Linked DNA regions of Homo sapiens: region 1 is linked to region 2. The links are contacts of gene promoters, found by promoter capture Hi-C in human tissues and cell types (Jung and others, 2019). All regions are on one chromosome and are shown on one strand. The core of a region is centred on a gene start or on the middle of the fragment in contact, and the rest is flanking DNA. Distances in the headings are between cores, read along the strand shown.

The links. The method cuts DNA at HindIII sites, captures the fragments that hold promoters and counts their contacts. A contact is called where the count stands out against the background at its distance.
Region 1: a contact is called between a fragment that was not itself captured here and the fragment with the promoter of PMCH in region 2, in 2 of the 25 tissues and cell types used here (aorta and stomach).

What each region holds. Positions count from the first base shown.
Region 1 is chr12:102,269,947-102,274,941 of GRCh38, reverse strand. No RefSeq gene overlaps it. Among named protein-coding and RNA genes, the nearest start is that of LINC02456, 7.1 kb to the left of the region's middle. The HindIII fragment of the contact is 6,539 bases long and covers 1-4,995 here.
Region 2 is chr12:102,194,836-102,199,930 of GRCh38, reverse strand. PMCH (pro-melanin concentrating hormone) reads left to right here and starts at 2,098. Exons shown (of 3, transcript NM_002674.4): 1 at 2,098-2,409; 2 at 2,760-2,958; 3 at 3,230-3,472. The coding sequence starts at 2,161. The coding sequence ends at 3,279. PARPBP (PARP1 binding protein) reads right to left here. Exons shown (of 11, transcript NM_017915.5): 10 at 4,484-4,619; 11 at 2,411-3,980. The coding sequence ends at 3,640. The HindIII fragment of the contact is 16,025 bases long and covers 1-5,095 here.

The DNA.
Region 1 (4,995 bases), core at 1,064-3,563, 75 kb before region 2:
ATGAAAAAACAAAAGGATATATATACACAGCATGTATGTATAAGATTCTCAAAGGAAAAAAGCAAATCAGTGCCAGAAAACAAAATTTTAAATATGTCATTAAAGAAAACTTTGTTAAAATAACAAAATACTTTACATATTAAAGGGAATACCATGTACATAGGAAAATTTTCCCAGAATGATTACCACCAAAATGTAATAAAACTATTGTACCTTAAAAAATATTTTCTTGTTATTTAAGCCAAAAAAGTAAATTACATACAAGAAGGAAAGTTATCATTTAGGCATAACTCTTTTAGATATGGAAGACAATGGAGAGATATATTTCTTACTCAAGGCCAAGAAAAAAATGAGTCAATGATTTTGTATCCAACTTAAGTGACCATCAAATATTAAAAGCACAACTGAAATTTAGAAGCATGCAAAAAAAATTCAGGGAATATTATAAATCTTCAATAATTAAATTTTAAAAATGTAACAATGACACAATAATAGACAAATCACTAAAAAAGAAGATAATATGAAAGTGATCTTATGGGAATTTAATATATTATAGAAGTTACACTTTAAATCAATCAGGAAATAATAGGCCTTTACGTAAATGGAACTGGTATAATTAGCTTCATATACAGATGAAAAAAATTAAAATTAACATTCCTACCTATGCCACATGGAAAATATCTAGACAAATTTTTAAAATAAACATAAAATCAATAAAATTACTAATACAAAATATAAAACATTTTTAAACTTCACATTAGGAAAAGCATTCTCAAACAAGGCTTTTTATCTAACAATTATTTAACAATTATTATAAACAAATTATTGTTAAATTTGACTATATAGTAATAATAATTATTGAGTACTTATTATATGCCAGAGACTATTCATTATTTAAGCCATTTAACATTCACATCAACCCTGTGAGGTGATTTCTATTATAATCTTAAGTTTACAGGTGAGAAACTTGAGAATAAGAGAGGTTAGGTAACTTACCAAAGATCACACAAATAGTTTCAGAGTGGGGATTCAAACCCAAGTCATTTGCTTTTAAAGCCCATACTCTTAACCACTATGCAATATCCTGCTCTACTTAAGACACAAGAAATAGAGTTTAAAAATAATCACTAGGCTTGGATAAAATAACTGTAACACAAATAATATAAAAAGGATTAATATTTGGGACAAAATAAAGAACTCGTACAGGCCTACAAGAAATTGAAAAGCAGCCCAAAAGAAAACTGGGCAAAGGATAATTCACAGGGAAAGAAACTTGAGTGGCCAGTATACATATGAAGAGATAATCAACTCAGTAGTAATCAAGAAAATGCAAATTAAATAATGAGATACTTGTTCACATTCACCAAATTAGCACTAATTTTAGAAGTTTGACAAAATTAAGTGTTGAAAAGATGTAGAGAAATCACCATTATTATATACTGCTGATGGAAGAATAAATAAGTACAGCCATTTTGAAGAATAGTTTGACAGTATCTATTAAAACTCAAAATGCTCATATCCTATAAACCAATAATTTCAATTCCAGGACTCTTTCTTTAGGAAAAAGTCTGCACTGGTAGACAGTTATAAGCATTGTTATTTATAATAATGAAAAACCAAAAGCAAACTACATGTCCATCAACAGAGGAATGTGATTATGTGTATATGTATTTAATAAAATTCTGTGCAACAGTTAAAACAAATGAACAAGATCTAAATGTCTCAATACAAATAGATATGAAAAATATAGTGTTGAGTGAAGAAGTGAAACAATCTCTGGAAGTATAAGCCCCAAACTTCAGTCTGAGGTTGAGGTTTTGGTGAAGAGAAAATCAGGCAAGAGAGTAGAAACAAAGGGATCTTTAGGTTTATCTTCTCTTGTCTTTTTCAAATGTGAACGTATCCATGTTTTGTTGCGTAATTAAAATTAATTTTTAAAAAGTTTGGCAGTAATCAAAATTAGTAAGTGTGGCAACAGAAAGTACTCTATCAATAATGAGAGTTTTCATCAAATTTGTTAAATTTAAATTCAAAGTGCCATGTTTTGCAATGTCATATAGCTTAGGTTCATTATCTGTTAAAGTGTATCATTCTGTGGCCAAGGTCTTTGACTAAGCTTTGGTTAAAATAATAGTTATAATGATAGCAATATGTTTCAATGTTATTTAATGAGAAACTTTGAGTTGTTGACACAAGTGCTTTTAAAACACAAAGCATTGGACTAGATATTGCCCTTTGTTTTAGCTAAATATTGAAGAAGTTCAGAGAATATTTATATACCAGTTACCATAAAATTTAAATTAAATCTATACTTATTCTGTATCATGTTATCTTAACATTGAATTTCTGCCTAAGTTTACAGAATAAGACAGTTTTCTTATAATATTCAAAGGTTTGTTTTAATAATTTCAAGAATTGTTGACTTGTAATGTTGAGAATATAAATTTTTGTTATAGGAAACTACATTTTTTAGAACATTGGCCCTAGAGAATTGTCTTTGTTTCCATAAAACTGTAAACTGTATTCGCCATAGTTTGCATTTGCTCACAAAGTTTACAATAGCTAAACACACTCTCTGACCTTCTTCCCACCCTAATCTTGTTACAATTAACTCAACCAGACTATATGGCTTTTCTTGGAGTGGGAAAAAAATCTAATGAAGACTCTTTTCTTGCAGAACTTATTTTTGCAAGTAAATTAAATAAGTGATTCAAACATATTATTTTGAAGGTAAAAAATGGAATCTTATTCCATTGCCCATGATTCATCAAAAAATTAAAGTAAAAGTTATAAATGGAACATCATGGATGTAGCAATTAATAGTCTGCTTTTCCCTTTAAACAAATTCTCCATTGAGAAAGATTTCAACATAAAAATAAAATTAGGAAAAGATACTAAAGAAAGCATGAGGTATAAGACAATAATCTCTTGAGTGAGAATGGTTTGACTAAAACCATTTTTTAAAAGATGGATGAATTCAACTATATATAAATAAAAAGTCTAAGTACCTAAAGAAACAAGCAAGCAAAGTCAAAGCACAGCCAATAAATTGGAAGAAAGCATCTGCAATACAAATTATAAAAGGCTAATTTCATAAAATGTGTAAGCTCAGGAAAATCAATATAGAAAAATGGGCAAAGGTCATAGACAGATAAGAAAAAAAAGGAGTACAGACAAAAATACAAATTCATTTTTTAAAACGAAAGGAAAAACAAGAAGATGCTGATTTTCATTTATCAGATGAGAACAAATTTTAAGAGTTTAATAATATGAGGAAATGGGCACTCATACTTTCAGGTGAGAATTTCACTTGGTACAGTCCCTATGGAGAGTCACTGGGCAATACCTGTTAATATTTTCAATACATGTAAGTATCATCCCTGTATTCTACTTTTAAAGTTATCATTCACATATATTCAAACAAATGCACAAAGAGGGAGCTAAAAACAATTCACTATAGCACAACTTGTAATAGCAAAAAAACTGGAAATAATCTAAATTCCCATCAATAGAGATTGCTTAAATAAATCATGGTGCATCCCTAGAATGGAATGCTAAATACAACTATAGAATAGTATCCAAGACATCTTGTTACAAGGAAAAGGCAAGATACAGAGCAGAGTGTAAAATATGCTATCATTGCAGGTCTGTTTTTAGACTGTATATATATATGATAATATGTATACATAATATCTCAGGAAACACAAATAACTGATAGCTGTGTTAGGACTGAGGGGCAACATTTATTTTCATTGTCTATTTGTTGACGCCTTTTGAATTTTTTTTTTTTTTTTTTTTTTGAGACGGAGTCTCGCTCTGTCACCCAGGGTGGAGTACAGTGGCTCGTTCTTGGCTCACGGCAAGCTCCGCCTCCTGGATTCACACCATTCTCCTGCCTCAGCCTCCCGAGTAGCTGGGACTACCAGCGCTCACCACCACGCCCGGCTAATTTTTTGTGTTTTTAGTAGAGATGGGGTTTCCCCGTGTTAGCCAGGATGGGCTCGATCTCCTGACCTCGTGATCCGCCCGCCTCGGCCTCCCAAAGTGCTGGGATTACAGGCGTGAGCTGCCGCGCCCGACCGCCTTTTGAATTTTTTTTGTACCAAGTGCATATATTACCTACTTTGAAAATTAACTAAAATTGGGTGGGGGAGAATTTGTAAATACATGCAGATGCTTGATCAACTTCACAATTTGTGTACAACATAATTTTCTAGGAAGATTAAAGAACAGCCTGAAAAACTTGAGACTAAACATAGTAGCCATAGATCTCAGAGTGCACATCTGGGTAAGTAAACTATGTCAAGAGAGCAATAGAATTTTATAAATCTGAATCTCAGCTACCTTTCTCTTGTGTGCAGTTGTGTCTAAGTTCCAGGGAGCTGACAAAGTATTGAGATATTGGCAGGGAGGAGGGAATAGAGCAGATGTAGTGTTGGAATCACTTCTCTACACAGACATACACTGAGAAATCTACAATCCCAATTGGTCTTCCATCATCAGCCCACACAGCTTAGCAAGAAGTTGTTCTTATTCCTGTCCGAATGGGCATTTCAGGATCTCCATTTCCTCTGCTTCTTCAGCACCACACTAAGAGTGGAACAGGATTCTTTTTGCTCCTGTTTTCATGTCACACTAAAGAATATGACTCTCTTTTGGGAGGTCGAGGCTGGCAGATCACTTGTGGGTCAGGAGTCCGAGACAAGCCTGGCCAACATTGTGAAACCCCATCTCCTCTAAAAATACAAAATTAGCTGGGTGTGGTGGCACGTGCCTGTAGTCCCAGCTATTCAGGAGGCTGAGGCAGAATTGCTTGAACCTGGGAGGCGGAAGTTGCAGTGAGTTGAGATCGCACCACTGAAATCCTGCCTGGGTGTCAGAACGAGACTCCATCTCAATAATAATAATAATAATAATAATAATAATAGAATATGACTTTCTTTGAGGCTGACACGGCATTATCATCCAGGGGCAGGATGCCCAAGTCATATCACC
Region 2 (5,095 bases), core at 849-3,348:
AAAAAAAGATTAAAGAAGATCTAAGCAAATACAGAAAAATGTCATGCTCATAGATAATAAATTACCTTCAGGATATCAGTTCTTCTCCAAAATTAATCTATAAATCTATAAAACCAATGTGATTATAAGTTGAGCATCCCAAATCTGAAAAGCCAAAATCCAAAAATGCTCCAAAATCTGAAACTTGTTAAGCATTAACAATATGCTAAAAAATATATATTCATTGAAGCATTTCAGATTTCAGATTTTGGGATACTTAACTGATATAATGCAAATGTTCCAAATTCTGAAAAAAATATCCCAAATCCAAAAATACTTCTGGTCCTAAGCATTTCAGATAAGGGATACCTAACTAGAACCTTAATATCCTGTCAAGTGTTCTTACGGAACTTGAAAAGCTGATTTTAAGATTTATATGGAAAAGAAATGACTAAGAATAGCTAAGGAACTGCTGTAAAAGAAAAACATGTGGGTAAGTAGAGGGCTGGGAAATTTGACCAGATATTAAAAATTATTTTAAAGTTATATTAATACTGTAGATTTGGCTGTGGAATAGAACGTTCTGAAAGGAGCCCACACATATATAGAAATCTGATATACTGTAGAGATGGCACTGCAGATTAGTGGGGACAGGATGACTTCTTCAAGAAATATATAAGGACATTGGAAAAAGTAAAATTACATCTCTATCTTATATCATACACAAAATTACAGATGAATTACAAACCTAAACATGAAAGTCAAAATATTTAAACTTTTAGAAGAAAATATATGAAAACACGTTAATAATCTAAGGATTGAGAAGGATTTCTAAAAAAAAACAACACATTAAAAGTAGTTGCCATAAAGAAAAAAGAAAAATATTTAAACATTAAAATTAATCAGTTTGGTTCACCAAAAGACACCAGAGGGGTTGAAAATATGTCACAAACTGAGCGAAAATAATTGAAACATATATAACTAACAATTAATATCCAGAATATATAAAGAACTCCCATAAATAAATTAGAAAAAGACAACCCAATAGAAAAATGGACAAAGCCAAAAAAGAAAAAAAAAAAAAGCATTTAACATAAGAGGAAACATAAATGGCTCAGAAACATATGGGAAGACACTTAACCTCTTTGGTAATTAGGAAAATACAAATTAAAAGGACAATGAGACACAAGAGTCAGCTAGGACATGGAACAATGGAAATTCTCATACCCTGCTTATCGAGGGCACAAATCGCTTACAACTATGTTGGAAAACATTTTGGCATTAGTAAAGCTGAACATATACATACTCCATGATCCAGTAATTCCATACTGAGAAATATACTCTAGAAAAATTCTTACATATATGTACCAGAAGACATATAAAAGAATGTATTATCTTATTCATTGGGGTCAAAATTAGAAATTAACTCTGAAATGTTTAATTAAAAGTCATACAACATAAACTCATCATCCAAAAGTAATGTTTATGGGCACATAAATATTCTTTTCATGGACTAATTCATTAATTTCTAAATTCATTAATAAATATTTGTACATATTATCCTTTTGTAAATGCAGAGATAAAATACACCTGACAGGTCAATTTTTGATATAGCATGAATGGCTTTTTGTTCACACTGACAGGCATATGTACTTTAATCACCAAAAACTATATCAAGTATTTATAAAAGAAAGTCTCTTTTGAGGATTATTTCAGTTTAATCAGGATTAAAAGGAAATAAAACTTTATCCTTATCATCCTTGAGTGAAATAACTTGAGTTTTAATATCTTTACTTAATCAGAAAATACACAAAAGGAAACAATAATATAGAGAGAGCCTGATGTCCTGTGGTCTTCCTTAATAACAACCCATTTTCAAGAGACTATAATCTACTCAACAGAAAGCATTCTACCAAGGATCTTAGTCAGATTCTGAGAAAATTCACACTCAAAATAAACAATGTGTCACTAAAACCAAAACAATGTAGGTATTAGCAGCTGCATAAAGGTTAGCCTCAATCTAATGAGTCATTTCTAAAATGATGAAAAGTATAATTCTTTGAAGTGCTTTCTATTCAAGCTAGAAAATATATAAAGATACAGAATCGTTTACCAAGCAGGCTGACAGAGAAATTTTTCATTTTCTTTCTTGTTTGACTGTATGCAAACATCAAACTAAGAATGGCAAAAATGAATCTCTCTTCCTATATATTAATACTAACTTTTTCTTTGTTTTCTCAAGGTATTTTACTTTCAGCATCCAAGTCCATAAGAAATTTAGATGATGACATGGTATTTAATACATTCAGGTTGGGGAAAGGCTTTCAGAAGGAAGACACTGCAGAAAAATCAGTTATTGCTCCTTCCCTGGAACAATATAAAAATGATGAGAGCAGTTTCATGAACGAAGAGGAAAATAAAGTTTCAAAGGTAAGTGGCAATGTGACTTGTCGTTTATTTCAATGAAAATTTAAATGATTCTTACAAATCCTCTGAAAAGTAAAACTGATACTTTTATAAACAGAAGTATATGCAAACAGTCACAATATGCATTAGGACGACTGACGATATTTCTTACATGCCAGGTAGTTCTTCCATCCCAGCAAACACCTCTTATCTGAAAGTGTTTTTTCTCCTATAAATTTGCATCTAAGGTATTTTTAAAAAGTCAAAAACAGTGCAGAGTAACTTTGAATTGATCAACAAGAATATTATACAATTGTATTATAGTTCCACTCCGAATACGATAGCTAAAAACCAAATCAACCTTCTCTTTACAGAACACAGGCTCCAAACATAATTTCTTAAATCATGGTCTGCCACTGAATCTGGCTATAAAACCTTATCTTGCACTAAAAGGATCTGTAGCTTTCCCAGCTGAGAATGGAGTTCAGAATACTGAATCAACACAAGAAAAGAGAGAAATTGGGGATGAAGAAAACTCAGCTAAATTTCCTATAGGAAGGAGAGATTTTGACAGTGAGTAGTCTTTTCAAAATTCAATTCTTACATCCTACCACCATTAAACAGAACTCTGAGTTAAAGTGAATTTGGATGCAATCATAACAAAATCAAATAAGACCATGGCTCAATTACACCTGCCAAAAATGTGGGATTAAATAGCAACAATTAATTATTATCATTTTGGTTTACTCAGAATTAGTTATACTAGATCCATTCTTTTTTTCTTAATAAATTTTGTGTGATAATTATAGTCCTTTAAACAATTTAAACTTTCTTCTTCCTTCAGTGCTCAGATGTATGCTGGGAAGAGTCTACCGACCTTGTTGGCAAGTCTGATACCTGTTGGTCCACATCATCTTTTCAGAAGAAAATAAAAGCATTTAATTGCCAATGGGAGGAGAAGCCCATACTGCTACTATAACTTGTGTATGTTAAATGTCTGTTTTAAAAGAAAGTAGTGTTAAGATGTATCAGTAACTGAAATGATATGCTTTCTCTGTGCATTAAACTTTGTGAAAATTCTGCATAATTATGACTTACTAGTATTTTTAAACAATGCTTAACATACTAACCTTACATACACTGTAGACCAAAATAATAAATCATCATAATTTACACCTTGATCTCTTAAAAATTAAGCATGTCTTTGGTGAATGGTTTATAGATACATAAACCTAAAGCATATAAGACACAAATTTATAGTCTAAAAAACTGAGTTAACTTTGCCTGGCCAGAAATCAACTTGTCCTTGGCAGTACATTTATTACTTTTTGCTACTTTAGCTAGTTTGCCGTACAATCTATTCTGTGAATCATTTGATTTCTTAGGTATTTTAGCATTTTTATGTTGAGGTGGTTCATTTCTATTATCACAGAGAATATTTTCACCATCCAAATCCACCTGTTTCCTTTTTGAGCTTTTATTTCCTGTCTGACTGGTTGATTTTCTTGATACTTTTTCATTTTTACTTCTGTCCAGATGAACATTTCCAAAACTCGTTCCAATTGTTGATCTTCCAACAGATGGATTTACACCCTCTGTTATGCAAGATAAAAAGGGGAAAGGAATTACATGATATTGAGTATTAATATTTACGAGAACTTTACAATAAACTTTAAAAATGGCTAACGAATATTCAAATTTTTAAAGTAAAATAATGCTATAAATAATATGATTGACAAATATAGCTACATTACTATCCTATTACTTTTCATTTTATCATAGCACCTCTGAGTTAGCTTTGGCCAGTAATCAACTTGTCAGCCCTATTAAGAAATATTTGTTTGAATGCATGACATTTAATCCTTAAACATATGCTACAAATTACTTCTTAAATACATTTAGTTAAATCAAACTGTGTCCTATTCCTATCGATAAATTTGTACTTAGATTTAACTTTTTAAATAAACTGAGGTCTTTAAAAATATTACCCTTTACATTTCATAGTACTTTGCAAAAATAACCTAATTTTACTTAAGTTAAAACTAATTAGTAGACTAGAATTAAATTGTTATTTAATTGCACAAATAAGGTCAATTACCAGAAAGGTCATTTTCCATGTAAAGAACACACAAAGGCTTTGATGCTAAATTAACATTATTCCAATTATCCTTGCTTATCATGTAGTCATCTTTATAAGTACAAGCAAATTGGGATCTAATTAAAGTTTGCTTCATCTAGTAACAGAAAGAAAGAAGAAAATATGCAAATTTATTCATTATTTTATTTCTTCATCTAGATAGACACACACTCTATAGTAATCAAGGTATAAAAATTTCCCTTAGAAATTCTATTACTCATTGAGAACCTCTCTCTAACCTTTTATATTTCATAGTTTGCAAACTCATTCATTGTTATGGCTAGCATTTTTGTTCTTTTCCAAAATAATAGCTTTATGTATATTTTTGATTTTTTTTTTGGTAACAGTTACAAAACAATCAATTTTAGACTCTTCGCAGGGCTTTGTTACATGTTCCTGTGTCAGCACTGCTTTGGAGCGTCTTATTGTAAGTAAAATAACAATACAGGTGATATACATAATCATAGAAAAATACAAGTTCTTCATCCTAAGAAGAACACACTCTTGGAAAAAAAATAGCATATGGAATTCAAGAAATTAGGGAGGGAAGAAATGCTAAGATGAAAAAAAGAA